Regions from separate parts of the Homo sapiens genome. Here regions 1, 2, 3 and 5 are each linked to region 4. The links are contacts of gene promoters, found by promoter capture Hi-C in blood cells and fetal thymus (Javierre and others, 2016). All regions are on one chromosome and are shown on one strand. The core of a region is centred on a gene start or on the middle of the fragment in contact, and the rest is flanking DNA. Distances in the headings are between cores, read along the strand shown.

Region 1 (4,964 bases), core at 2,142-4,641, 1.4 Mb before region 4:
GAGACTGAGGCAGGAGAATCACTTGAACCTAGGAGGCAGAGGTTGCAGTGAGCCGAGATTGCACACTGCACTCCAGCCTGGGCGACAGAATGAGATTCTGTCCAGGAAAAAAAAGAAAAAAAAGCCGAGTCAGGGTGGGATCAGCCAGGGGGGCAGCATGGGCAGAAAGGGAGGACTCAGGATAGTCCAGGAACGTGCTGCCATTAGGAGGTTGGGAAGACCATGAGGTTGACGCCTCATCTAACTCACTTCTGTGAATTTTGAGCATTTAAGGACTTCTCAGAAGTTCTTCCCATAGTGCCTGAAATGTAGTGAGAATAGTGAATGCTAGCTCTGTGTGTGTTTGCCTGTTTTTTTTGTTTTTGTTTTTTTTTAAAAGAAAATAAAGTGAAACCACAATCTAGAGTGTTTGTGGGGAAGTGTCCTTGGTGGCTGTGAAAATCTTGTGAAAACTCCTTGATCCTGGACAAAGATGGGCCCTTCTCACGCCAAGCCCTGGGGGCTTCTAGAAAGCACTTCCCCACCCCCAGGCGCCCTGCACTCTGCCCAGAGCTGACATCACCAGGGCAGCCTGTGGCAAGTGCTGGCTCCTAGGACAAAGGCCTGAGTGTGAGCAGCGTGGGGCCCGGCATCTCCCAGCTGCCGCAGCCTCAATCCCCCATCTGTGCCAGGGGTAAACACTGGTGGGGGCCATTCAGCTCAGCTAGAGCTGGGACCTGGGGTCCCCAGAATTCTGCTTTTCCAGGCAGAGCTTATTGTGATCCCTAAGAGGCAGTGGAAGTAGCTCTGAGACTTGGGCCAGCTCTTCGTGCCACGATTTCCCCATGTGTGGTAGGGGACAGTGGTCCATGCTTATTTCCTTAGGCTTTCGGCATGAACTTTCTGTGTATGTGAAGCACAAGGCACAGCGTGTGGCATATGGTGGGCACATGGTATGTGTTCTTATGGTCTTATTTTCACTTGAATATAAGCAGGGAATTTGTTTTGTTGGGCAGCCCCCCAGTGCTTGGAACTGTGCACAGCACACAGCACACAGCACACAATGTGTATTTGTTGAATGAATGAATAAATGATAGGATGGGAATCCCTTTTCCCAAGAGTCTGGATTCATTTCCAGTTTGCCAGGGTGGTGTTGAGGAGGAATGGCTGGATGTGCTGGTGGGTGGTTCCTTCATTAGTTAGTTGGTTAGTTCATTCACTTACACATAATGGGCACATAGTGAGCCTGAGGGACCCAGGACTGTGAAGGGCATGGCAGGGAAACACAGCAGAACTCATGGTTCCTGCCAAACAAAAATGGATTCTTAAGTTGGAGCCTCTCTGAAGGAGAGGGTAGTGCCTGTAATGTGATTGAGAGCCACGTGGAACAAATGGCCACCTATGAAGGCTCTAGGAGGAAGAAGTCCTGGGAATTGAGAGCAGGTTGGGTGGCAGGGATGGCCTTGGTGCATGGGTGGGCTTGGGGTAAGGGCACATGGGCATCATGGTTTCAATCCCAGACTCGGTGTCAACCCGCCTGGCTCTAGGTCCCAGCTCTGTGACTCACTTTTCTGGGATGGTCTTGGAGTAAAAGACTAAACCTCTCACACCCCAGGGATCTAAGCTGTGAGATGAGAATAATCATAGTTTTCAGTTGATAGGGTGGTTGGTGGTTGGGAGCCCTAGAGGCCTGCTGGACACATGATTAGCTCTTGGTCAGTGTTTACGATGGATGATAGCAGTATTATTATTATTATTATTTTTATTGGGGAAGAGAATACATTCCAGAGAAGAGGCATGGAATGAGCCGAGAGAGGCAAGGGGGCTGCAGGGCGGAAGTATTGACATGGAGAACACTGGGTTGATTCATGTGGACAGGAGCTTAGGGCTGAGCGTGGGAGTTAGGGTAACGGTATTCCATTCCTAAGAGAGCTGTACTTTTTAACTCTGCAAGCCAAAATAGAGGTATGCATATGACAGAATCACGTACACTCCTCCCAGCTAAAGAACTAGGACATTTTCAGTAACAGTTGAAGGTTCTTGGTTCACTTTCCAACCCAAAACTCTCCCTCCACAGAGGGAACCCCCACTGGAATTGGGTGCATTCCTTTAACACGCATGTCTTTATATTTGACCTCATACATGCTCTCCATAAACAGCGCATAGTTTTATGTGCCATGTCTTTAAAAGATCTCTGTAAGTGGCTTCATACTGTACATATCCTTCTTTCTTTTGCACAAGAGTACATTTTTGGGGTTCGCCCGTGTTGCTACGTGTGGCCCTGGTTATCTCATTTTAACTGCTGCATAGCTAGCTACCATTGTATAAATCTGCTGCAAACAGACTGAAACAAAAATACAGATGTTTCCATTCTCAGGTGATGGATATTTAGGTCGCGTCCCATTTTTTACTGTTGTAAGCAAGGCATTTTTGAGTCTCCTGGTGTGTATATGTGAAAGCTTCTCTAGACCAGGAATGGGTGAATTTTTCTGTAAAAGGCCAGATAGTCAATATTTTAAGTTTTGCCACTATATGGCCTTTTTTTCCCCAACAACTCAGCTCTGCCGTTGTAGCTTGTAGGGGGCCACAGCCAATGTGATGGATGTGGCTGTGTTTCTAATAAAACTTACCAAAATGGGGAGTAGGCAAGATTTGGCCCAGTAGGGTTTGTGTTGGTTGTAGATGATGCACGTTTTCACTTCTACGGGTCGCTAAATCGCTTGCCAAGTGATTGTAGCTGTGCTCTGAGAGCGTTTCTCATGGTTGAGGGTGGCTATGTCCCTGTGCTATCCTTGGTGGGTTTCATGAAGGTCTCCTGTCCCTTTGCAGAGCTGCATGCTTCTGGGAGGCCGGAAGACCACGGACATCCCTTTGGAAGGCTACCTGTTGTCTCCGATCCAGAGGATCTGCAAGTACCCGCTCCTCCTTAAGGTGAGACTTTCCCGTATTTGAAGTGACAGAAAACTCTTTGGCTTCAGCATAACATAAAATTTGTTAGTTCAAGTATCTGAGAAGTCTAGCAGCAGTGTCAGCTTTGGGCCGGGCTGGATTTAAACCAGGACCCTGCCTCTTTCTCTCTCGTTCACCCTGCTTTCCACCATTCAGGCTTATTTTCAGTGTGGCAGCAGGTGGCTGTGGTTCTCCTGGCCTCACATCCTCTCAAGTTTAAGGTCAGTGGGAAAGAGTGAACCTCTCTACTAAGAGCTGAGGAAAGTCCTGAGATTCATTCTGTCTTTGGCTATCTGCAGCCAGGGGAAGGTCATATGCCAAATGGTTTGGGCCTGAGTCATGCGCTTTGACCTGGACAAATTACATGAAGCCTTTGCATGTACCATTTATCATCCTCCAGTCAGCTTAGACCCGTGCTTTACCCCTGAACCAATCACTATTGCTGTGCTCTGATTAGCTGAGACATGGTCTCACTCCACTCTGATCCAATGACAGTGAGCAGGGCAGTGTTGTGTTCTGATTGGCTGAGACCTGGGTCAGGTGCTGCACTCCTGAACCAATCATTTTGAGCAAGGGAATTCTAATTGGCTCAGACTTGGGTCATGTGCTCCAACCTTGAACCAATCACTAGGTCCCACAGGCCATGAGTGAGGACAGATGAACCCCACGTGACCAAAGTCTGAGCTGTTTGTGGAAGGCAGGGTGAGGGCAGGCATAGGTGTTGGCTGGGCAAATGCAGCCTTCCATACACCTGCTGTTTCCTTCCCTGCCGCCAGCCCTGGCTTTGTCTTGGCTGGGCAAAGCAGGGAAGGTTTGCTGCTTCTGTGGGGATGGAGAAGTCTTGATTCTAGGCTTCAGCCTGGCTGCTGGACAGATCCTGAGCCCAGGGGACGGCTCTTCCGCCTTCCACTGCTCTCAGCCCAGGGTTTCAGCCCTTGGAAATGGCTGAACAAAATGGCTATTGGCCGGAGCCTGTCCTGGCTCTGTCCTGAAGGCAGCTGTGTTTTAGGTTCCCTGTGGGGGGATTAATTTGGCTGGTGGGGCCTCATTCACGCACCTGCTCACAGGGGTTTGTGTATTTTTGCTCCATGAACTGGAAGCAAAAGGGGAGGGGAAGGGTACCAGGGCATTCTTCATCTTGGTTTTCTGCTGGAGAAGGTGGGTGATGCTGGAGCCTCTGAACTGGGCCAGACCCTGGGGCCATCAGCTCTGCCCACGAACACAGGACTTTGCTGTGCGCAGCCGTGGGGGTGGGACGCAGCTCTCCCATGCCTCCTCTGGTCTGCTCCTGCTGTTGATCTCTCCCAGCAATCTCGAAAGGAACTTCAGCACTTGTTGTTGCCATGGCTTCGATCCCTAGATAGGTCTTAGAAATGCTGTAGCTCAGGTCTTCACCTGGTTGTGGAAGAAGCTTCAGGTGAAACTTATAAACTGGTAGCCTGTGGACCAAATCGGGCCTGCAGATGTGCTTTGTGTGATCTGTGTGATGTGTCTTTCGAACTTGGATTAGCTACCAGCATTAAGAGACAGTGTACTGTAGTGGTTAGAGACAGGGTGGGCAAAACTGTGGCCTCTGGGCCAAATATAGCCCATGGCCTGTTTTTATACAGCCTATGAGCTAAGAATGATGTTTACTCTTTTTTTTAAAAGCTTTGTTAAACGAACAAGCAAAACCCCAGAAGAATATGTAGCAGAGAGTGGATGTAGCCAGCAGAGCCTAAAATATTTACCATCTGGCCCTTTACAGCAAAAATGTGCTGACCCCTGGATGAGAGTCAGCCGTTGCAGCCATAAGCAGTCTGGATTTGAATTTCTCTGTCATTTACGAGTGTGTAACCTTGGGCAAGTCACTATCCGTCCCTGTGCCTCAGTTTCTCATTGAAACATAGGGTTCATGTTAATGGTACTTACGGGGTTGTTATGACAAGTAAGCATGGACTTAGTTCTAACGGCAACTCAGCAAGGTAGGCACTGTGATTAGCCCCCTCTTGGAGATGGGGCAGCTGAGGCACAGAGAAAGGAAGTGGCCTTTCCAA
Region 2 (5,162 bases), core at 1,859-4,358, 1.5 Mb before region 4:
TTATATTTTTTGACATCATATGTAACAAGGCCTTGCTTTACCCAAAGTCACAAATATTTATTCCAATGTTTTCTTCTAAGAAGTTTATAGTTTTAGTTCTTATCCTTAGGTCTGTGATCCACTTTTAGTTATTGTTTGCATATGATGTGATGAAGGAGTCCAAACTCATTGTTTTCACGTGACCACTTATTGAAAAGATTATATTGTCACATCAAACTATTTTGGTTCCATTGTAATAAGTCAACTGACTATAAATGTAAGGGTTTATTTCTGTCCTCTTAATCTGTTCCATTGACTTATCTGTCTATCCTTATGCCAACGCCACACTGTCTTGATTATTGTGACCTTATAGTAAGTTTTAAAATCAGGAATTGTGAGTTTTCCAATTTTGTTATTTGTCAAAGTTGTCTTGGCTGTTCTGGGTTGCTTATATTTCCACATGAATTTTAGGGTCAGCCAACTAAAAAGAAACCAGCTGGGATTTTTTTTTTTTTTTTTTTTAGACGGAGTTTTGCTCTGTCGTCCAGGCTGGAGTGCAGTGGTGATCTCGGCTCACTGCAAGCTCCGCCTCCTGAGTTCACGGCCGTTCTCCTGCCTCAGCCTCCCGAGTAGCTGAGACTACAGGCGTCCACCACCACGCCTGGCTAGTTTTTTGTATTTTTAGTAGAGACGGGGTTTCACCGTGTTAGCCAGGATGGTCTGGATCTGCTGACCTCGTGATCTGCCCACCTCAGCCCCCCAAAGTGCTGGGATTACAGGCCTGAGCCACTGCGCCCGGCCCCAGCTGGGAGTTTTATAGGAATTGCTTTAAACCTGTAGATTAGTTTGGGGAGTATTGCTACATTGATAATATTAAGTCTATCAGTCCATGAAAATGCAATGACTTTCCTTTTATTTCGGTCTTCTTTAATATTTCAACAGTGTTTTCAAGTCTTCACAGCATAAGTTTTGTACTTCTGTAAATTTATTCCTAAGTATTTTATCCTTTTTGATGCTATTGTAAAATGAATTGTTTGCTTAATTTTATTTTCTGATTTTTCATTGACACTTCATAGAGATAAATTTTTGTATGTTGATCTTATATCCCACAGCTTTGCTAAGCTTGTTTATTAATTCTAACAATTTTTAGTGGATTCCATGCCATTTATAATATACAGGATCAAGACATCTGAAAGTAGAATAAAATTTTATGTCTTCCTTTCTAAACTGGATGCCTTTTCCCCCTTATGTAATTGCCCTGGCTAGAATGTCCAGTACAATAATTAATAGATGCAATGAGAGCAGACATCTTGTCTTGTTGCTAATTTTAGGGGGAAAGCATTCATTCACCATCAAGTATGATGTTAGCTGTGGGATTTTTTACAATGCCCTTTCTATTTGTGGTTTTGATCATGAAAAGACAATGGGCCAGGCACGGTGTCTCATGCCTGTAATCCCAGCACTTTGGGAGGCCAAGGTGGACAGATACCTGAGGTCAGGAGTTTAAGACCAGTCTGGCCAACATGGTGAAACCCCGTCTCTACTAAAAAAATACAAAAAGTAGCTGGGCGTGGTGGCATGTGCCTGTAATTCCAGCTGCCTGGAGGCTGAGGCAAGAGAGTCGCTTGAACCCGGGAGGCTGAGAGGTCGCAGTGGGCCAAGATTGCATCACTGCGCTTCAGCCTGGGTGACAGAGCAAGACTTCATCTAAAAAAAAAAAAAAAAAAAGGACAACCCAACTGAAGGATGGACAAAGAATTTGAATAGACACTCCTTTAAAGAAGATATACAAATGACCAATAAGCTTATGAAAAGATGATTAAATTTATTATCACTGGGAAAATGCAAATTAAAGCCACAATGAAATACCAGTCCACACCCACTAGTGAGGATAAAATAAAAGACAGATAATAACAAGTGTCAGTGAGGCTGTGGAGAAGTTGCAGTCCTTATATATTGCTGGCAAAAATGTAAGATACCACAGCCACTTTGGAAAACAGTTTGGCAGTTCCTCAAAATATTAAGCATAGAATTGCCATTTAACCCAGCAATTCTACTCCTAGGTATATATACCCCAGAGACACAAAAATATACATACACATAGAAACTTCATAGAAACATGAAGATTCTCTCTTTTTTTTTTTTTTTTTTTTTTTTTGAGACGGAGTCTCACTGTGTTGCCCAGGCTTGAGTGCAGTGGCGCGATCTCGGCTCATTGCAAGCTCCACCTCCTGGGTTCACGCCATTCTCCTGCCTCAACCTCCCGAGTAGCTGGGACTACAGGCGCCCGCCACCACACCCGGCTAATTTTTTGTATTTTTAGTAGAGACGGGGTTTCACCGTGTTAGCCAGGATGGTCTTGATCTCCTGACCTCGTGATCCGCCTGCCTCCGCCTCCCAAAGTGCTGGGATTACAGGCGTGAGCCACCGCGCCCAGCAACATGAAGATTCTTAACAACATAATTCATAATACCCCAAACCTGGAAGCAATGCAAATGTCCATCAATTGATGGTTGTCTAAACAAAATGTATATCAAAATAATGGAATATTCTTTAGCTGTAAAAAGTTATAAAGAACTGATACATGCTGTAGCATGGATGAAGCTTGAAGACATCATGTTAAGTGGAAGAAGCTCGTCATAAAAAACATATTGTATGATGATCTGTATGATATATACAGAATAGGGGAGTGCATAGAGACAGAAAGTAGATTAGTAGTTGTCTAGGGCTGGGGGTGGGGGTGGGGAAAGGAGCATGGGTAGAGATGGGGATGGGGTTTCTTTTGAGAGTGATGAAAACATTCCGAAATTAGATTGTAGTGATGGTTGCACAACTACAAGAAACCATTGAATTGCACACTTAAAGATGAATTGTAGGCCAGGTGCTGTGGCTTACGCCTGTAATCCCAGCACTTTGGGAGGGCAAGGTGGGCAGATCATAAAGTCAGGCGTTTGAGACCAGCCCGGCCAATAGGGTGAAACCCCGTCTCTACTAAAAGTACAAAAATTAGCTGGGCGTCGTGGCAGGTGCCTGTAGACCCAGCTACTCAGGAGGCTGAGGCAGGAGAATCCCTTGAACCCGGAAGGCAGAGGTTGTAGTGAGCTGAGATCGTACCATTGCACTCCAGCCTGGGTGACAGAGTGAGACCCTGTCTCAAAAAAAAAAAAAAAATGAATTGTATGTAAATTCTATCTCAATAAAACTGTTAAAAATAAGTTAATAAATAAGGACAGTAGATACAAAGGCCAAAAATATGAGGGAGGAGTTATGATAAAAACCACCTGTCAATTGAACTTAAAAGCAAGTTTATTAAAAGGAGCATTTTAAAAAGCAATTGTTGGAAAGGATTTATTGCTGGGTTTAAATTCTTTTTTTATTATGGAAAAATGTTAAATGTACACCACAGTAAAGGGAAACATATAACAAAGCAGTCTCCATCACCCAGTCCAACAATTATCAACTCATGGCCCATCTGGTTTTCGCTATACTCCTACCCACTCCCCCACGCTGAATATTTGAAGCAAGTCCCAGAATCATGTTGTTTCATTATTGCAGAAATATTGTGAGGATATCGTCCACATGTCCCATGTCTTCCTCACAAAGACCTGTGGGTAGAGTTGCTTTTTAATCTCTGTATTGAGAAAAGAAGCTTTTTTTTTTTTTTTTTTTTTTTTTTTTAGCAATGGTTTGCTCTCTTTGCTTAGATATTACACTTAGTATTTAGTCATAGATTCCCCTTCTGCTATCATTACTAGGATTCTCAGAGACAATTTGGCAGCTGGACACCTTAAAGGTCCTTATAGTAGGCAGTTTTGTGAACCAGCTAAATGTCTCGCTTTATTTCATTTTCTTACCTGTGGCAGAAATGACTAGTGGCCTATGTATTATCCATTTGCCCTTCTTTCCTAGTAAATAAGCCCTGAACTTTATTTGGGGTGGCATCAGGCACAACTAAGAGATTACATTTCTCAGCCTCCTTTGTAGCTAGGACTACATTCTGGCCAATTATATGTAAGCTGAAGTTTTGGGCTGGAACTTCCAAAATGATCCTTAAAGAAAACTGGGATTACAGGATTTTTTCATTTCCTTCTTCTTGCTGCCCGAAATGTGGCTGCAATAGCTGGAGCTCCTGCAGTCATCCTGCAGCACGAGGTGGACTTTAGGATGGAGGCCACATTCTAAGGATAGTGAGGCAGGATGATAGAAAGAGATCGTATCCTCAATTTTGTGGAGCTACCACATCAGCTCTGGGTTTCCTCTCTCTAGATTTCATTTGTGTAAGAGAAAAATAAACATCTGTGGTGTTTATGCCACTGTTATTCCTGGTCTCTCTTACCAGCAGCTGAACACAATACCAATCGGATATACTACTCCTTATTTTTCCTTCTCCTTGACCACCTCATGTATTGATTTCAAGGTGTATATATTTGTATAAACCACTTTGAGTCCTTTGTGGACTTAGAGTCAAAATGAATAATTTATTAAACTACAGCATTACACAATTGAGCACATGGGTTCTTATTTCAAAGAACAGCAACAGAAAACATTTGCAGACAAAAAGTTAAACTGTGTCTTGTGATTCACAAAACTGAAGTTTGAATCAGGAAGGAAATCCATGGCTTATTACCAGAAAGATGGGCACCACATGGAAATTCAATTTCCAGCAGAGTGAGTTTTTAACATTTGAAAAGCTGAACAAAAATGGACCATATGTCCCACCATGGAGGAAGAGTTAGGCCAGCCATAGTGTATTAAAACAAAGGAATATCAGATTGCAACTAGGAATGACAAATATGACCATGATGTAGAAATAAGGGTAGAGGCTCTGTAAAGTAACAGGAAGGGGAAAGATAGGACTTGGCCTGGTGCCCATGCCTGCTTTGTCACCACTGTGCATAATTATGTCTCTGGCATTTTTAGGATCAGAAGAGGTTACATAGTTATCAATAATTGGTGATTTGGAGGGGAGTAAGGGTCTTATTTCATGGAGCTGTTGATAATTTAGTGTTTCCATTTAATGCAGGCATATTGACGAGTTGACAGATGTACCCAGAGGTGATATTAAAAATATGTAGCATGAATGAGACGCTAATCATAAACAGAATACAGGAGGCCCTGCTAGACCTGGTGTTAACCTTTTAGGTGCTAGATAGTAGAATGAGCTAGAGGATTCCAACAGACGA
Region 3 (4,874 bases), core at 1,608-4,107, 1.3 Mb before region 4:
AATATTAGGGTTGTAAGGTGTCGTTTTGAGGTATCGACTGTGATTCCTTCCCCCACCCTCCATTCTCCAGCGGTTGGCCGGTGTTAGAACTCGCTCTCTTTGAGTGACTGGCTACAAGGGCCTGAGAGGTGGCCAGCCAGGGTTGGAGCTGGAGGGGATGGAGCCCCACCTGAGGTGCCGTGTCACACGGGTTAGAGGGTCACTGGGAAACACCGGGCGGTGGCTTCTGTGATTTATTTTCTTGATGGTAACTTCTCAGAGCAGGGCGATTGGGACATCACCAGCCAGAGCACAGGAAGCCACCCTGCCTGCTGGGGAGGAGGGACCCACACAAGCCCCCTCGGCAGTTTGTCCCCCCAGCTTCGGTATGCCTTCAGGGAAAGGTCACAGCTGGGGAGGAAGCGGGGGGACGCCTGTCACCCCTGGCAGGTGGTGAGTTCAGGTGGGGGCTCCCTGCTGCCCCCAGGCCTGGGAGCTTGAAGCCCTCCCGGCATCTGGCATCCGAGCCTCCCGCCCTCCAGGGTGCGCTTCCCTCTCTTGCCGCAGCATACACGAGGGCAGGCAGTGGCCTTGTCACTGTATCTTGCATCAGAGACAAAGGAGGACCCGCTTTAGCCCTGCTGCGGGAAATGGGGGAGGGCCCAGGGCCAGCGCATTGTGCACTGGTTTACTTTAAAATGTACAGATTCTTCTCGTTAAATTCTTGATAGATTTTTTATTATTATTAAAAGTCAGTTTATAATACAAAGAACGAGGCTGTGATCTGCTTCATCTGCGGTGGGTGGCTTGGGGGGTGGGTGCGGCCGGGGGCACTAGGGGATGAGCTCGCGCTTTAAAAGCCTCATGGAGGACAGTGCTGATCTCTGCATCGGGGCCTTGAACCAGCGACCCCGAAGTCAGTGATGTTTTCACTCTGTGCCTCAGTTTCCTCCTTGATAATGGGGCGATGCAGCTTCTCTCGCGGGGTGATTGCTGAGGACGACCCGAGGTTGCACGGATTGCCTGCAACCCAGGTATACAGGAAAATAACAGGCCTTATTTGATATTTCAGCTTTTTTCCCCCCTGGATTCTGAGCTCCCATTTCACTGTGAAGGTAGGAAAAAGTGACTGTTTTCCCAGGAATTCCACACCTCCTCCTGGGTGGCTTACTTGTGCTGAGGGGACAGTGTGGATCCAAGGGGTGCCATAGAATCCTCCTCGCTCCAACCTGCAAGGCCTGTTGGATCCAGGCGGGAGTGGAGTTCAAAATACCCACAACATGGTCGTGCCGGACCCCCAGTCAGCCAGAACTTACGCTGGCCACAAACAGGCCTATTGGGCAGACGTGAAATGCACCAATGAGAATAGAGAGTCTGCGTGCACACCTGGGCCTGGTGGCTGCATCCTAGGCTGTCAGCAGGTTCTCCACCTGCCTGGGCCCAGGTGATCTTTATGAAGCTGCCTGGGTTTGTTTGCATAGTCAGAGAAACCTCATTCCCTGGGCTGCAGACCTGTTCTGCTGTGCCAGCCCTGTGCCCCCTCGTCCTTTTTTTTTTTTTTTGAGACAGGGTCTTTTGCTCTTATCACCCAGGGTAGAGTGCAGTGGCGCGATCATGACTCACTTAAGCTTCGACCTCCTGGGCTCAATTTATCCTCCCACCTCAGCATCCCAAGTAACTGCAACTACAGGCACGTGCCACCACGCCTGGCTAATTTGTTAAATTTTTTGTGGAGACCAGGTTTCAGTATGCTGCCTACCAAGTAGCCTGGACTACAGGCACACACCACCATGCCTGGCTAATTTTTAAAAATTTTTATAGAGACCGGGTTTCGGTATGTTGCGTATGGCCTCTTCTTTATTCCATCTTTTCCCGATTTCCAATCCTTTGGAAAATGCTGAAATCGATGACAGTTTCCTCTGGGTCATGGCCACCCTTGGGACTCCCCTGTACCATGGTGCTGCACCCAGCCCTGCCATTTCACACTCGAGCCCCTTCTCTTTCAGTCTCTTTTCCTTCCAAACTAACCTGTTGCAGATTACATTCTCTGAAGGCCCAGATTGGATCCCTCCCAGAGAGAGATCCTCGCGTCTCTCAGTTACAGGTTTCAAAGGACTCAATACTCTAACAGGCAAGAGGGAATCCTGGTGGGGTTTCAGGCACAGTCATGGATTGATTATTTAGAATTATCTGAGGCCAGTGTTTGGATCCAGGGAAAATCACTTCGAGGGAAGACCTGTTACCTCAATCTATATTTGAGGTCAACAGGGAGGATTGGACGTCTTCCTTCAGGCAGACACGTTTCTAGAAAGCATCGATTTCAGCCTCTCCTCCACCCTGGGGGCCCGCAGAAGGAACATACATTCTCCTGGGGCCGTAGGCAGGAGCAGCTTGGGTTTCCAGCCGGCTCTCTGTGGCCTTGAGCAAGTTGCATACTTTACAGGCTCAGAGCTGTGCTTGCAGAGTTGGGAGGGAGAGCCGGGCCCACCTCCCTCTCCGAGATGTGTTTCTCCAAGTATAAAACTAAGCACGAAGGGCCTCTCAGAGCAAGCGGACATTTTTGCAGGAGACAAGAGGTCTCAAACTGATGGCTCCAGGCTGAAACTTGGAACTAAATGTGGGTTTTTTTTTTTACTTCCTTCCTGATATGGTGTTTTAAAAAAATGAATTATATTTATGAACCAGCAAATTTCATCTCTGAATTCTGATTTTTAGTTTGTCTCGAAAATCAGAAGCTCTGAGCTGGGTGTGGTGGTGCGCACCTGTGGTCCCAGCTACTTGGAGGCAAAGGTGGGAGGATTGCTTGAGACCAGGAGTTCAAGGCTGTCGTGCGCTTTGATCACACCTGTGAATAGCCAACTGCACTCCAGCCTGGGCAACGTAGTGTGGTCCTGCCTCTTAAAAAAAAGATTAAAGAAAAAATCAGAAGCTCTGGTCACACTGGTCCACATTCCCACCTGGCTACATGTCAGCTGGAGCTGAGGAGCGGCTGTCTTCTTGAGGAGGGTGCCAGCTCTCCAGCTCCCCGGAGCCACGTGGTCCGAGCACTCATCCGGCCTGCTCACGCTGACGGCCAGATCCTTAGCTCTGGACTTGCCATGGCGATGTCAGCTCGGGGAGGACCTGGTGACCCGGAGTCACTGTGCCGTCCAATGGAGAATCAAGGGGCAGGCGCAGCCCCGCATTGACGTCTCTCGGAGCCTCTCCTTCTCTGCTCCTCCAGGATGAGGGCAGGGCCCAGGTGGTTGAATTCCTCTGAGCCTCAGTTTTTTCATCTGTCAAAAGGTGCTGACCCAGAGATGGCCCCTTGGCGTGGACTGCAACAGAGGCCACCCAGGAAGTGGAAGGTACGATGGGGTGTGTTGACCGCTTTATGATTTTATCTAAATAACTGTTGGTGTACTTCCTGTCCACCTTCCCCCCAGCAGTAAGAGCAGGAACCACACCCCTTCCATACTGTAGCCCAGGGCCAGACAGTGGTGAATCACGGCTAAATATTAATAGAAGAAAGCAGGGTTAGCACAGTGATCAGAGCGGGGGGCGCAAGCCACACCCATCTGTGGCCAAGCGGGCCCCTCTAACCTCTGTGTCTGCCACGTGGGTTCATTCATGGGGGGCTGGACTAGGACCTTTGAAGTCAGACACCCTCGCCTGCTCCTGAATCTGTCAACACCTGATACTTGCTGAGTGGCCATATCTGAGATTCTCTGTCTTTCTGGGACCCTCAGCTTCCTTCTTTGAGAAATGGAGACTTTACGCCCACCTGGCTGCCTTGCGGGGGTACCAGGAGTCTCCTCCAGGGCCCCAAAGTGGAACTTCCCGGGATAAGTGTAGTGCCCTGTCTGTCCAGCAGGTGGTGCTGGGGACCGCGTAGTGCCCAGAGGCTGCTGTTCCCCGGGCTCCAGCACTCAGACCGAAGGCTGGCTCCTGGGTGCAGGTATTTGGGACAGAGCCAGCCTGGAGGCGGGGCCTGGAATCGTCTGGACAATGGGCACTGGCGCTATCCCTCTCCTGGGCTGGGCTTGCCGTGAATATTTTCTCTTTTTTTCTCTCTTTTTAAAAACTTTTTAAAATTTGTCTCTTTCTTACTTTCGTCCCCCTCATTTTCTTTCTCTCTCTCTAAGCTTTTCTATATTTGTCTTTGTCCCATAACATATGTCTGTGAGCTTGACTCGATTTTTCAATTCTTTCCTTTCGGGGATCTTTCCCTTCTCTCTTTTCTCTTTTTTCCCTTCCTCTCTTCTGATTGGAGGAGAAGGATATGAAAGGCCCTTATGCACTGTAAAGCGGGGTGCTTACGAAGCTTGTGACCAGAAACCCACAGTCACTGGTGCACCTTTGTGGAAGTGACGGCCACTAGATGGCGCTGTGGGCCAGGGCGCCCCGCCTAGCCTTGCGGGCCTCCTGCCCAGAGCTCCTGGGAGGCTCCCACTGCAAGCCTGGAGCTCGGGGTTTGCAGGCAGGGGAGGCCGAAAGCCAAGCCTGAAGCTGCCTCCCTCCGGGCACTGGTAGCGTTCCCTGGAGGGCTGGAGTGGGGCAGGGGTGGTTAGGAGAGGGATGCTAAGGAAATGCCTCCGCTGCCAGCGCCTTCACCAGCTGCACCTCCCATTATTGCAGCCAAAGTTTGCTCACAAGGACAGTGGCTGGATTTGAGCCCAGGCCGTGTGGCTCCAGACCCTGAGCCCGGGGCTCTGTCTGGGGTGTGGCCCAGGGGCAGGTCCTTGGGTGCGTGAGGGTGGCTTGGCTCAGCTCCTCTCCCTGGGTCACTGCAGCGGCCCTGTGCTGTTCTGTTTTCCCATCCCGAAGTCCTGAGGGTCTCAGCAGAGGGGCCCAGGATTCAAGTCCATCCACTCCCAGGGCGGGTCCCTAGCCAGCCTCTGCCCAGCATGTGGGGT
Region 4 (5,207 bases), core at 57-2,556:
TGATTGTGGCAGGAAGGGCTGACCTACGGGGGTAGGCCTGACGCATAATGGGGGCTCTTGTTTCCGGGCTGAGCGTGCCATCTTTCTGTCTCCCTCTGGATTGAAATGGCTTCTCAGCCCGAGAGGCACTGCCTGTGCCCTGGATTCACAAGGTACACGCCTCCCTGGGAAGCAAAGGCTGAGAGACAGCGGCTCTCTCTCTCTCTTTCTGCATCTGCCGGGAGAGCTGCAGCTGGTATTTTTCCACAGGCCTTCGCTGCGATCTCAAGGCCTAGTTTTTCCCAGCCAGGCCCCGAGTCCGAGAGAGGGTTAACAGGCAGGAAGCCGAAGGCATCGCAGGCTAATACGGAAGTCAGATTTGTGTTTAACTGACAGGTTTAGCAGGTCTCGGCCGCGGGGGAGGGGCCGGGAGGGAAGGGAAGTTTGTAGATCCAGGCATGTGGCCTGCGAGGAGGGCTTTGGGTTTTTCTTAGGGTAAGGACCGAGAGGGGTCCCCCTTGGCATCGTGGCAGGGCGACAGGAACCCACGTTGATTTTGCCTGCAGGACTGGCTAAGCAGGGCGCGAGAGGCCCACGGCTCCCTGGCCTGCCTTGCAAGGAGGCATGGGGACAATGACTATGCAAACTTGACCACTCTGCTCCCCTCCTCCCCTCAGCAGCTACTCCTCGCTCCTCTGAGAAGCCAGGGCTGCTCTCTGCTGATTTTTCGGGGCTCCCCCGGGCTGCCTGCTTCCCCCAGCTTCTCAGAGGCCTGCCTCAAGCCCCTTTTTCTGGCCCCTTGGCTGTTTCCCCGGGACTCCCCACTCCCCAGCTTCCCCTTCCCCTTGGAGAGCCACCCTGCTGGACTGTTCTAGAAAAAGGCTGGCCTTCCTCCCTGGACAAGGGCCGTTTCTCTGGGGGCAGGTGAGGGTGAGCCGTTCCAGCCCACTCCAAGAAACTCCCTTCCCAGGGACCTCCGGGCCTCAGGCTTTCCTGGAGCAGGTCAGGCTGGCTGCCCTGGCTGGCCCGTGCCGGGAAATCTAGCCAGGGTGCAGGAGAAGTGCGTGTGGGGGCCCCTTTCCCAAGTTTTTCTTGCTGCAAAAGGCCTAGCTTAGCCTGTCTTTTTCTATGCACAGGATGGCTCTTGCTCACCCGAGCCTCACAAAGATAATCGCTCAGGAAGTGTTTCAGCCAATCCGGGGCGGCTTTACACTCCGATTTGCCGGGGCAGCCAATCGGGGATGAGCTTTTATTAGGCGGCCAGATCATCAGCCGAAGTGCCAAACCCTTTTTCTGTGAGAACTAGGAGCCTGTCCTCCATGTTTTATAAGTATTGACATTACACAGTGTTAACAATGCATCCACAGAGGTAAGCTCGACTTTTTAACCATCTTTTTTCCCCCTCCCTCTGAGACATCCGAATTGTGGGCGAGCAGTGTGATTTCTCTGTGGCTGGCCGTGCCACACTCACCCCCAGAGCACTTATGTTAACTTGGAACTGTTTAGAGAGAATTTTTTTGCTTTCTTGGGTCACATGGCTCAGTAGCCATTAGCCATAGCTTGATTTTGCAAACTGGCAAGGGCCTGGCACACCTTTCCTTCCACCAGGGCATGGTGTTTCTGGAAGAGTTTGAAGCTAGATCCTGGTATGCCAAAAAAGAAGCTTTTTTTTTTCCTTCTTTTTTTTTTTTTCTTTCCCTCTTCCCTCTCTCTTCCCCTCTCTCTCTCTCTGAGCAGTTCCCCCCCTCCCACCCCTGCACTATTGTCTTCTCTTTTGCCACATGCCCTGCTGGGGGAAGAAAATGGAAGGTAAGCAAACAGGCTCCTCTCCAAGGAGAGCTCATGGCAGACAGCAGAGCAGGCAAGTTTGCCTCTCCAAAGAGGTTCTGGGAAGGCTGGATAAGTTTTGACAAGAGAGGAGCGTGTTTGCAAAAGAATTGTGCCCTCAGCAGAGCAGTGCTAAGGAGAGTCTAGCTCCTGGGGCCTAGGTGGGTGGTGGTGTCTGTACACGGTCTTCTCTTATTCTACAGAGCTTCTGCACTTGAAACTACATTGTTCAGCCTGTTTTCCTGACTTAGGTTGCTACAGAGTGTTCTGCAAGCCAGCCTACAGCCAGCAAATGTTTCTGAAAGTGTTTTCTAGGCTTTGGAGGAAGTTTTTTGGAGTAGGGATGGGGACTGGGGGGTGGGGGGAGAGATCTTGGACAACATCCTGCAAAAAAAAAAAAAAAAAAAAATCTGCAAGGATTCTGAATCCCTTAGCTTTCTACTCTTGCATGATTTTCAAGGAACTAATGTTACCTTTTATCCTTGTTTTCATTTTCCTGTCCCTTTTATACATTGTATCCTCCTCTCTTCTCCTGTGTCATGGAGTGTAGAGGAAATAAAATCATGTCTGTGGCTCATGACAGCATTCCATATTCAGTTGTTGGGTTGTGTTGTTGTTGTTGTGTGTGTTTTTAATAATACCATGTAACTGTTTAAAAAAATTTCCTTTTTGATCAAGTCCCAAATCTGCCAGCCTGTTCTCTCTTCCTAACTGTGGAAAAATGAGACGGTTGCTTGAACATTTGTTGGGTAAGTAAAGCAATCCATTTCCTCTGTGACCATGTTTGAAGAGTTTTGCGAACATTTGGGGTCTGTTTGTAATAGTGGGTCTTGGCTACAGGAGTTGGGGGCTTCATTAGCAGGAACAAAATAAGGGCTTTTTAAAGAGTGTCTTGATTTTAGGTGACTGTTTGAATCCACTGTTTTTCCTGATAACCTGCAGCTAGGATTGAAGATTATACTTCCTGTTTACCCTGAGTCAGGGGAGAAATGTTCAGTTCATTGTGACTTGACTCTAGACCTTTAATGGGGTTTGTTTGGATATTCAAACTGTGAGTAGGTGATGTGCTTGTGAAATGTCATGAAACTGCTTGTTCTTAGAGGTGCAGAGCCCTAAAAACATTGGTGGTGTAGAAGCTGGTGGTGGTGGTGGTATGTGTGTGTTGGGGGGGTGGTGTCAGTGTGCTCATGTTTTAGGACTTATGTATAGTGCAAAATCTCATCTACCACCAGACTGGGTTTGATTCAGGACTCACTGACCAACACATTTTGGCCTTTTTTCAGGTCTCCTCCACACATCTGTATGCATGCTGGCCCCACATAAGATTTCTCACTTTTTACATTTCCCTTGACCACTTAAGGCTGCAGCTAGAAGTTAAGTGGGAAAAGTAGAGTCTTGTTTAGCAGTACCTTCAGAATTTCCCTAGAAGTTCAGTACATAAATTTTCAGCTTGGAGACCAATCCGACATGACCGTAAATGCAGGAAATATATTCAATTGCTGTGTTATGTCAACTTTATGGAGTCAGTAATCTTTTTTCTTTCAAATGAGTGTCCAGTAGCCCACTTTCTGACACCGAATTGGAAAAAGGCTCATTTAATCAGCAGAAACGTACCACATTCTAAGTTGAGAAAAGTCTGTGCAAGGCAGGCCAGCTTAGCTTCTTAGAGTAAAACTGCAGGCAGTTAATGATGTTATATACTTAAAACTGAACAGTGCCACTGCCCCAAACAAGTAAGTTCAGACACTCAGCTATTTTCTTTGTTCTTATCTCCTTGCTGTAAATGGAAATTACATATCGAGGTTCTTGTGGCCTCCCTAGAAGCAATATCTAATCATAAGACTCCTGGTTTGGTGCCTTCAACGTTTGCATAATACTGTGTTTGTTGGGCTGGAAGGGAACTTAAGGGCAAGGCATTTGTCCTCTAAAAGCTTGCATTAAAATGGCTCCCACAGGTTTGGAGAGCCAAGATCTGTTTTCAAATGTACAGCCCCCAGCAAGTTCCCAACCCTGGACCAAGCTAGCCACTTTTCCTCTGGTACTGTGACCCCTACCAAGCATGAGTCTGTAAAAAGTTAATTGCTTTCAAAGTAGCATTATTTTCCAGTTTCAGGAAAGGGGGAAAAAAATAAATGTCTGCATTGCAGCAGGACTAGGTAGGGACGGCAGTACTGGCTCCCAGAGCAGCCCAATGGGGTTCTTCTACTCTAGCTTTTAAACCAATAGACTTGGAGGAAAGGTTAAAGATTGACAATTGCAGTGGCCGAACTAAGAACGGGCCTTCTGGAAATTTCTACCATCTTTGTTCCTTTTAGGAAAAGCAGATCTGCCAAGCAGAAGCGTCTCCTACCTTCCATTCCTAGGTCATCTCCCTTCCCTGCTTCCCCCCAACCCCCCTTCTTTTTCTCATCAAGGTAGAATGTTCTCTCTGCCACGTTTGTAAATTGCAGAAGGAGGAACAGAATGTTGGGCTGTTTTCCTTTTTCCTTCTGCCTCCTCAGTCCCCAAAGAGGATACACAGCTGCAAGGAGCAAACACAGACACACTGAAGCTTTTGATTCCTCTCCTTTTTTTTCCTTCAAGACCCTCCAGGATGGATTCACTTTCTGCTTTGGGAAATTAAGTGGCATTCACGTGGGGGAGGGGGAGTAACTGCTTTTATTAGCTCCAGAAAATGGTCAGTGTTCAGTCTGTAACTAGGAATTAATTATATATAATCACTCAGTAAACTTTCTACAGAGTTTTTCTAATTGCTGAGCCTGATCATAGTTAGCCCGTTGGCGCCAAGTCCAGTTACTTTTATAATTAACAGCTCAAAGATTTGAGTCAGAAAGAAACAATTGGGGGCCTCTTGGATTATAAATTAGGGATGAAAACAATAGCTTTTTTTCCTTTCTTTCTTGTCATCCCTTTTATTTTCAACAAAACATTTCCCCTTTTCTTTCCCTGGGAGAACCAGTGGGGAGACTGCATCAGGTCTTAAATAGGATGAGGGGGGAGACACTTTTTAGGAAGTGGGGTGACAGTAACCTAGAAAACCCTGGAGGCAAAGGTAGGTTTTTAAAAGTCCAGCCACTTGCAACGCGTGATGTCTTTGTTTCTTTTGCCCTCTTTCCCCTTCTCTCTCCTGTGGCAGAGGCAGCAGACATTTGTCAGCCTGGGAACCCTCAATCTGGCTTTGCCTCTGGTTGACTCTGGAAAGAAAGATACATTCAAAGGGGCCTTCGCTACTGCACAGCAGAGATTTAAAAAGGGAATATGTTTCAGAACCCTTTGGTTACTCTTAAAATGCAAGATCTGAGCAAGGGTTCACCCTTGGCTTCAGGTTGCTAAGGTTATGGTCACCCTCCCCGCTACTTCCCACTCTCCTTGCAGACAAACAAACAGGCAGTGGCCATGCC
Region 5 (5,094 bases), core at 1,501-4,000, 1.5 Mb before region 4:
CTTAAGTATGTTACTAAACGCTGTATTATCTTTTAGTGTCATCATTACCACTGGGGATGGGGATGGAAGGGGAAAAAGATCCCAGCAGAATCTGAGGAAGTAACGATGTATAAAACATTGGGGTGGGCCAGAGATGGGACCCATCCACAACGTGGAAATGTTTTTTGGCAGTGTGGGCCAATTCTTGGGTGAAATGTGGGATTTGTGTGTAAACTTGAGGCTAACCTTCCTTGGTCATGGGCTGAGAAGGGAACTAACATTTGTTGAGCACCTACTCTGTGCCAGCTATGTGTGTCAGGTACTTTACATCAGTGGTTCTCAACAGGGGGCAATTCTGTCCCCAGGGATATCTGGCAATGTCTGGAGACACTTTTTCTGTTTATTTTTGAGGCAAGGCTTACTCTGTTGTCCAGGTTGGAGTGCAGTGGTGTGATCACAGCTTACTTGCAGCCCTGACCTCCTGGGCTCAAGCAAGCTCCCCACCTCAGCCCAGCAGCTGGTACTACAGGTGTGTGCCACCATGCCCAGCTAATTTTTAAAATTTTTTTGTAGAGACAGGGTCTTGCTATGTTGCCCAGGCTGGTCTTGAACTTCTGGGATCAAACAATCCTCCCACTTGGACCTCCTAAAATTCTGGGATTAGAGGCCGGAGCCACTGTGCCCAGCCTGGAGACATTTTTGATTCTCAGATTGGGGAGGGAGTGCTACTGGCATCTAGTGGGTAGGGGACGCGGCTAAATGTCCTGAAATGCACAGGACACGCCCCTCCCCCAACAAAGAGTTATGTGACTCCAAATGTCAATAGTCCCAAGGTTGAGAAAGTCTGTATTGCATAGAATTCGCTCTCACAAAGACTCCCCTTTTACAGATTAGACGACTGAGGCCCAGAGAAATAACGTGTCTTGGCCAAGGTTACCCTGCCAGTTGGATTTGGACTGGGATACAAATGCAAGCCCGCTTCATTCCATGGTCCATTATGTTCCAGCCATGTTCTCCCCTCGTGGTAGACAGAATTAATTTAAAGATGAGGAAACGGAGGCTCAGAAAGGTACCGTGAACAGTTTAAAGTCACAAAGCAGAGATACTCCAGAGGCCTTTATTAGGAATAAAAATATAAATAAAAAACCAGCTACCTTTGGACACAATTGACTCCACTACCCAAGCGTGACAGGCTCACCTATCTCATGTCCTTTACTCCCTGCCCAGGGGAACTTCACTCAGCCCAAGGCCCAGATCAAATGCTACCTTGCCCATGATCCCAAAGAAAGAAGTCAGAGAGGGCAGAAGCCACCCCATTCTCTCCCTGTGTCCTTAGGCACTTACAGTATTGAGAGGCCAATGGGAGGAAAATCCTAGGCTTTTGGAACAGGAATAAATAAGCAATGTTTCTGTCCATAAAATGACTACAGTCTAGAGGCGGATACTATGTGGATCACTTTATCCCCTGCAGAGACGATACAATCTCTGGTCCGGAAACACGGGTGATTAGGGATTGTATGGGCCATTTGAGAGTGGGGCCAGGCTTAGAGGGCCGTTCACACATGCAATAATAGTAAGAACAAACATTTACAGAGAACTTTCTAGGTGTTGGGCTTCACACATGCAATAATAGTAAGAACAAACATTTACAGAGAACTTTCTAGGTGCTAAGTACTTCCCATGGAACCCCGGGGAGGACCTTGGAGCTAGGTACCATGATCGTTCCCGTTATACTGATGAAAACACTGAGGATCTTGAAGCAAGGAAACCAGCCCAAGGCCACCCGGCCAGCAAGTGGGGAGCTAGGATTTGAACCTGAGCAGCTGACTCTAGGCCCCAGAACTTCCTCCCCTCTCCATACCTTCCGATAAGGCGGGTGATGATCAACATTGCCCAGAGCAACCTGACAAGAAGCTGGGTTTCCCAAGGCCTTATCCCATGGGGTGGGTGGATGGAAGGGGGAGCAGGCAGGGTACCTGCCACTTGATCAATAACTCAAGAGCAGGTAATAATTTCTTCTGGGAAAGGTGGAAAGGGCAGGGTCAGGGGGCAAAGAAGTTCAGAAAGAAAAGGAAGGAAGGAAAGAGAGAGATGGGAAAGGAAACGGGAAAGAGAAAAGTGAGAGCGAGCGCGCGCCACGCATGTTCCTTCCCAAGGTCGTGGTAGCACCGAGGGCACCGCGAGGGCCCGGCGTTCCCGGGAGGGGCCGTCACTGCCCAGAGAGGGGCCGTCACTGCCCAGGCAGCGGTCGCCCCTGACTTCCCGGGGCCGCGGAGGCGCGCGTGGCGGGGCTGGCTTGCCCCCGAGCGGCTCCGCAGCGAGCTTTCCCAGCCCGGTGTTTACTTGGCCCGAGCAGCGGCCGGACCTGCAAGCAGGAGCCTGCGCGCGGCGGGTGTCGCGTGTGCCGGGTGGGAGTGGCGTAGCCCGCGGTGACTGCGGGTTGGGGGGGCGCCACGCGTCCGGGCGCGGAGTTGGTACGCTCGGTTCGGCGTGCGCGCGGCCTCGGACTCCCGGCTCCGCGGGGCCCTTCCGGAGGCTCCCGCCCGACCCCCGAGCTTCCGACGGAGGCGCCGAGCGCCGCGCCGCGTCCCCAGGGGCCCCGTGCACGCGCAGAGCGCCTCTGCGGCCGAGCGCGGCGTGGCACTTGGCAGACGGTCCCTGGCGCGGGGGCGGGGGGCCAGCCGTCTGGGAGCCCCGAGGGCCGCCCCCTCCCGCCCCTCGCCCGGCCCCCGCGCGCTGCCTCCGCCCCCGGCCCAGCCGCCCGGCCCCCAGTCCCGCCCGCCGCGCCGGGAGCCCGGCCCGCCGCTGAGCCCGGCCCGCCGGCGCGCCCCGTCCGGGATGGGGCGCCTGGACGCCTGAGTTGCCGCTCGGCGCGACGGAAGGAGCCGGCGCCGCGCGGCCGCGCTAGAATGGAGGCGCCCAGCGGCAGCGAGCCCGGCGGCGACGGGGCCGGGGACTGCGCCCACCCGGACCCCCGGGCCCCTGGCGCCGCGGCGCCCAGCTCCGGCCCCGGCCCGTGCGCGGCCGCCCGGGAGTCCGAGCGCCAGCTGCGCCTCCGCCTCTGCGTCCTCAACGAGATCTTGGGCACCGAGAGGGACTACGTGGGCACCTTGCGCTTCTTGCAGTCGGTGAGTGTCGCTCGGGAGCTTGGGGACAGCTTTCCCTCCAGCCGCTCGCCCCGCTGCGGTCCCCACAACCTGTGGCCGTGGTCCCCGTGGGTGGAGAATTGCCTCGGGGGCGCCCCGCAGGGCGCGCGGAAAGCGGGGGGGATCCGAGCTCCTCCAGAGCTGTCGCGTCGCCTCCCTCCCTGGCCGGCGCACGGTCCTGCTCCGACCGGGGCTCTCCCGCACTCCACTTCCCCGCGGCGCGCGCTGCCCTTTTGTCTTTTCTTCCCCGTCCCCGCCTTTCAAATAGTTTTAAAATTAGTTACATCCGCGATGCAGGGGCTTGGGGACCCCGGCGGCGCCGGGAGCTGGCGCTCCTGCGTCTTTTTCCCAGGAATAACTACGCGCCCGGTGCACCACTCATCTAGGACATACCGTAGGAGCCCCAGAGCCCAACGTCCCTGCGCGTTGATGGAGTAGGATAAAACCTGAAGCTCAGAGGAGGGGCGGGGATTGACAGAACCCCAGGGTAGAATCCCCCATGCACAGGTTTTTGCTGGAGTTCGGGGAGAGTGGGTTTCGAACTCAAAACTCGGCAGTCCAGGCTCCCTAACTGCATCCACCCCCACCAACTCCCCATCTCCAAGTGCAAAACCACGGCCTCAGACTTTGTAAAATAACAACCGACCACTTACTATGTGCCAGACACCTTACATGTGTCATTAATTAGCAGGTTTAACCTTCACAGGCGGTCTATGAAGTAGGGACGAGTATTTCCCCCATTTTTAATTAAAAAAATTTTTTTTTGAGACGGAGTCTCCCTCAGTCACCCAGGCTGGAGTACAGTGGCGCAATCTCGGTTCACTGCAACCTCCGCCTCCCGGGTTCAAGCAATTCTCTTGCCTCAGCCTCCCGAGTAGCTGGGATTACAGGCACGCGCCAGCCACCACGGCCGACTAATTTTTGTATTTTTATCAGAGAGGGGATTTCACCATGTTGGCCATGCTGGTCTTGGACTCCTGGCCTCAAGTGATCCGCCGACCTCGGCCTCCAAAGTGCAGGGATTACAGGCGTGAGCTACTGGGTCCTGCCTCCTCCGTTTTTAAGATTGGGAAAGTTTAGCTCCAGAGGGGCCGGGTAGCTTGTCTGGGATCGCACAGCTGATTAAGTGGGGGTACTGGGCTTTGAACCGGGACTATCCCAGCTGGTGTTCTAAACCCCTATTCTATGCTGCATTTTTCTTTTGCTTTTTTTCTGTGAGAGGGAGGAAGGGGCCACTTCCCTACTCTCCTAGGAAGTGAGAAAAGTGGCCAGCGGGTGGAGGGGGTGGGACGGGGCAGAGCCTTGGATGGAAGTTAGGAGACTCTAAAGTCTTTAATCTCCATGCCTCCTGCTGGGGCCTCATTTACTCCCCTTCTCTGCTCTAGGAAGTCTTTTAATCCTGGTTCAGGAAGGGCTGGTGTGGGGGTGGCTCTTTCAAAGACCCTAGAGCCAGGCTTTGTAGCTCCTAGTCTTTGGGAGAAAGAGGGAGACTCTGGGGTCCTCTGGGGCTCCTCATGGCTTAGGGGTGCAGCTGAGGCTGTGTGAGATCAGAGTTCCAGCTCAGGGAGGAGACAGCCTTAGACTAGAGCCCTTCTGCCTGTGAAAGGAGATGTACTGGGGGCAGGGGGATGTGGGAGAGGGGGTTGTGCAGAAGCATTGAAAACCATTTGGCTAAAGGACCCTTCTAGGAAGGCCTGTAAGAATAAGGCAGGATTGGCTTTCTTTCCCATCCCTTCTTCTCTCACAGTTTCGGGGGTGGGGGGTGGGGGAAGAATTTGTTCTGTTAGAAGCTGGCAGTTTTTGAATTAAACATGTAGACAACCCTGGTGTCTCTGAGCAATGTCAAATTCTAGGGAACTCCTGACTTCTCCTTCTGAGCCACTCCATGCTCCTCTGCTTGGAAGAGAAACAGGAAATACAAACCAATTTTGATATTAATGGGAAAGAAAATATACCTCTCCCTCCCACG

What was found. The method cuts DNA at HindIII sites, captures the fragments that hold promoters and counts their contacts. A CHiCAGO score of 5 or more calls a contact.
Region 1: a contact is called between a fragment that was not itself captured here and the fragment with the promoter of ZMYND8 in region 4, in 1 of 17 cell types (total B cells). The highest score is 6.8, in total B cells.
Region 2: a contact is called between a fragment that was not itself captured here and the fragment with the promoter of ZMYND8 in region 4, in 1 of 17 cell types (total CD8 T cells). The highest score is 6.0, in total CD8 T cells.
Region 3: a contact is called between a fragment that was not itself captured here and the fragment with the promoter of ZMYND8 in region 4, in 8 of 17 cell types (naive CD8 T cells, activated CD4 T cells, naive B cells and 5 more). The highest score is 8.2, in naive CD8 T cells.
Region 5: the fragment with the promoter of PREX1 here is called in contact with the fragment with the promoter of ZMYND8 in region 4 in 2 of 17 cell types (naive CD8 T cells and total B cells); the score reaches 10.0 in naive CD8 T cells.

The regions. Positions count from the first base shown.
Region 1 is chr20:48,724,236-48,729,199 of GRCh38, reverse strand. It overlaps PREX1 (phosphatidylinositol-3,4,5-trisphosphate dependent Rac exchange factor 1), which reads left to right. Exons shown (of 40, transcript NM_020820.4): 5 at 2,809-2,910. Among named protein-coding and RNA genes, the nearest start is that of PREX1, 100 kb to the left of the region's middle. The HindIII fragment of the contact is 1,901 bases long and covers 2,441-4,341 here.
Region 2 is chr20:48,879,477-48,884,638 of GRCh38, reverse strand. It overlaps a transcript of PREX1 not described here. Among named protein-coding and RNA genes, the nearest start is that of ARFGEF2, 40 kb to the left of the region's middle. The HindIII fragment of the contact is 1,045 bases long and covers 2,586-3,630 here.
Region 3 is chr20:48,620,126-48,624,999 of GRCh38, reverse strand. PREX1 (phosphatidylinositol-3,4,5-trisphosphate dependent Rac exchange factor 1) reads left to right here. Exons shown (of 40, transcript NM_020820.4): 40 at 1-748. Among named protein-coding and RNA genes, the nearest start is that of PREX1, 210 kb to the left of the region's middle. RefSeq lists enhancers at 3,957-4,016, 4,839-4,874 and a silencer at 4,317-4,446. The HindIII fragment of the contact is 2,496 bases long and covers 1,610-4,105 here.
Region 4 is chr20:47,352,798-47,358,004 of GRCh38, reverse strand. It overlaps ZMYND8 (zinc finger MYND-type containing 8), which reads left to right and starts at 1,306. Exons shown (of 23, transcript NM_001281775.3): 1 at 1,306-1,348. The coding sequence starts at 1,335. LOC101927377 (a long non-coding RNA gene) reads right to left here. Exons shown (of 2, transcript NR_134501.1): 2 at 3,372-5,000. RefSeq lists enhancers at 1-266, 1-295, 1,046-1,340, 875-1,482, 1,326-1,495 and 3 more. The HindIII fragment of the contact is 2,834 bases long and covers 1-1,644 here.
Region 5 is chr20:48,825,655-48,830,748 of GRCh38, reverse strand. PREX1 (phosphatidylinositol-3,4,5-trisphosphate dependent Rac exchange factor 1) reads left to right here and starts at 2,750. Exons shown (of 40, transcript NM_020820.4): 1 at 2,750-3,107. The coding sequence starts at 2,889. RefSeq lists silencers at 2,097-2,776, 3,187-3,256. The HindIII fragment of the contact is 7,694 bases long and covers 1-5,094 here.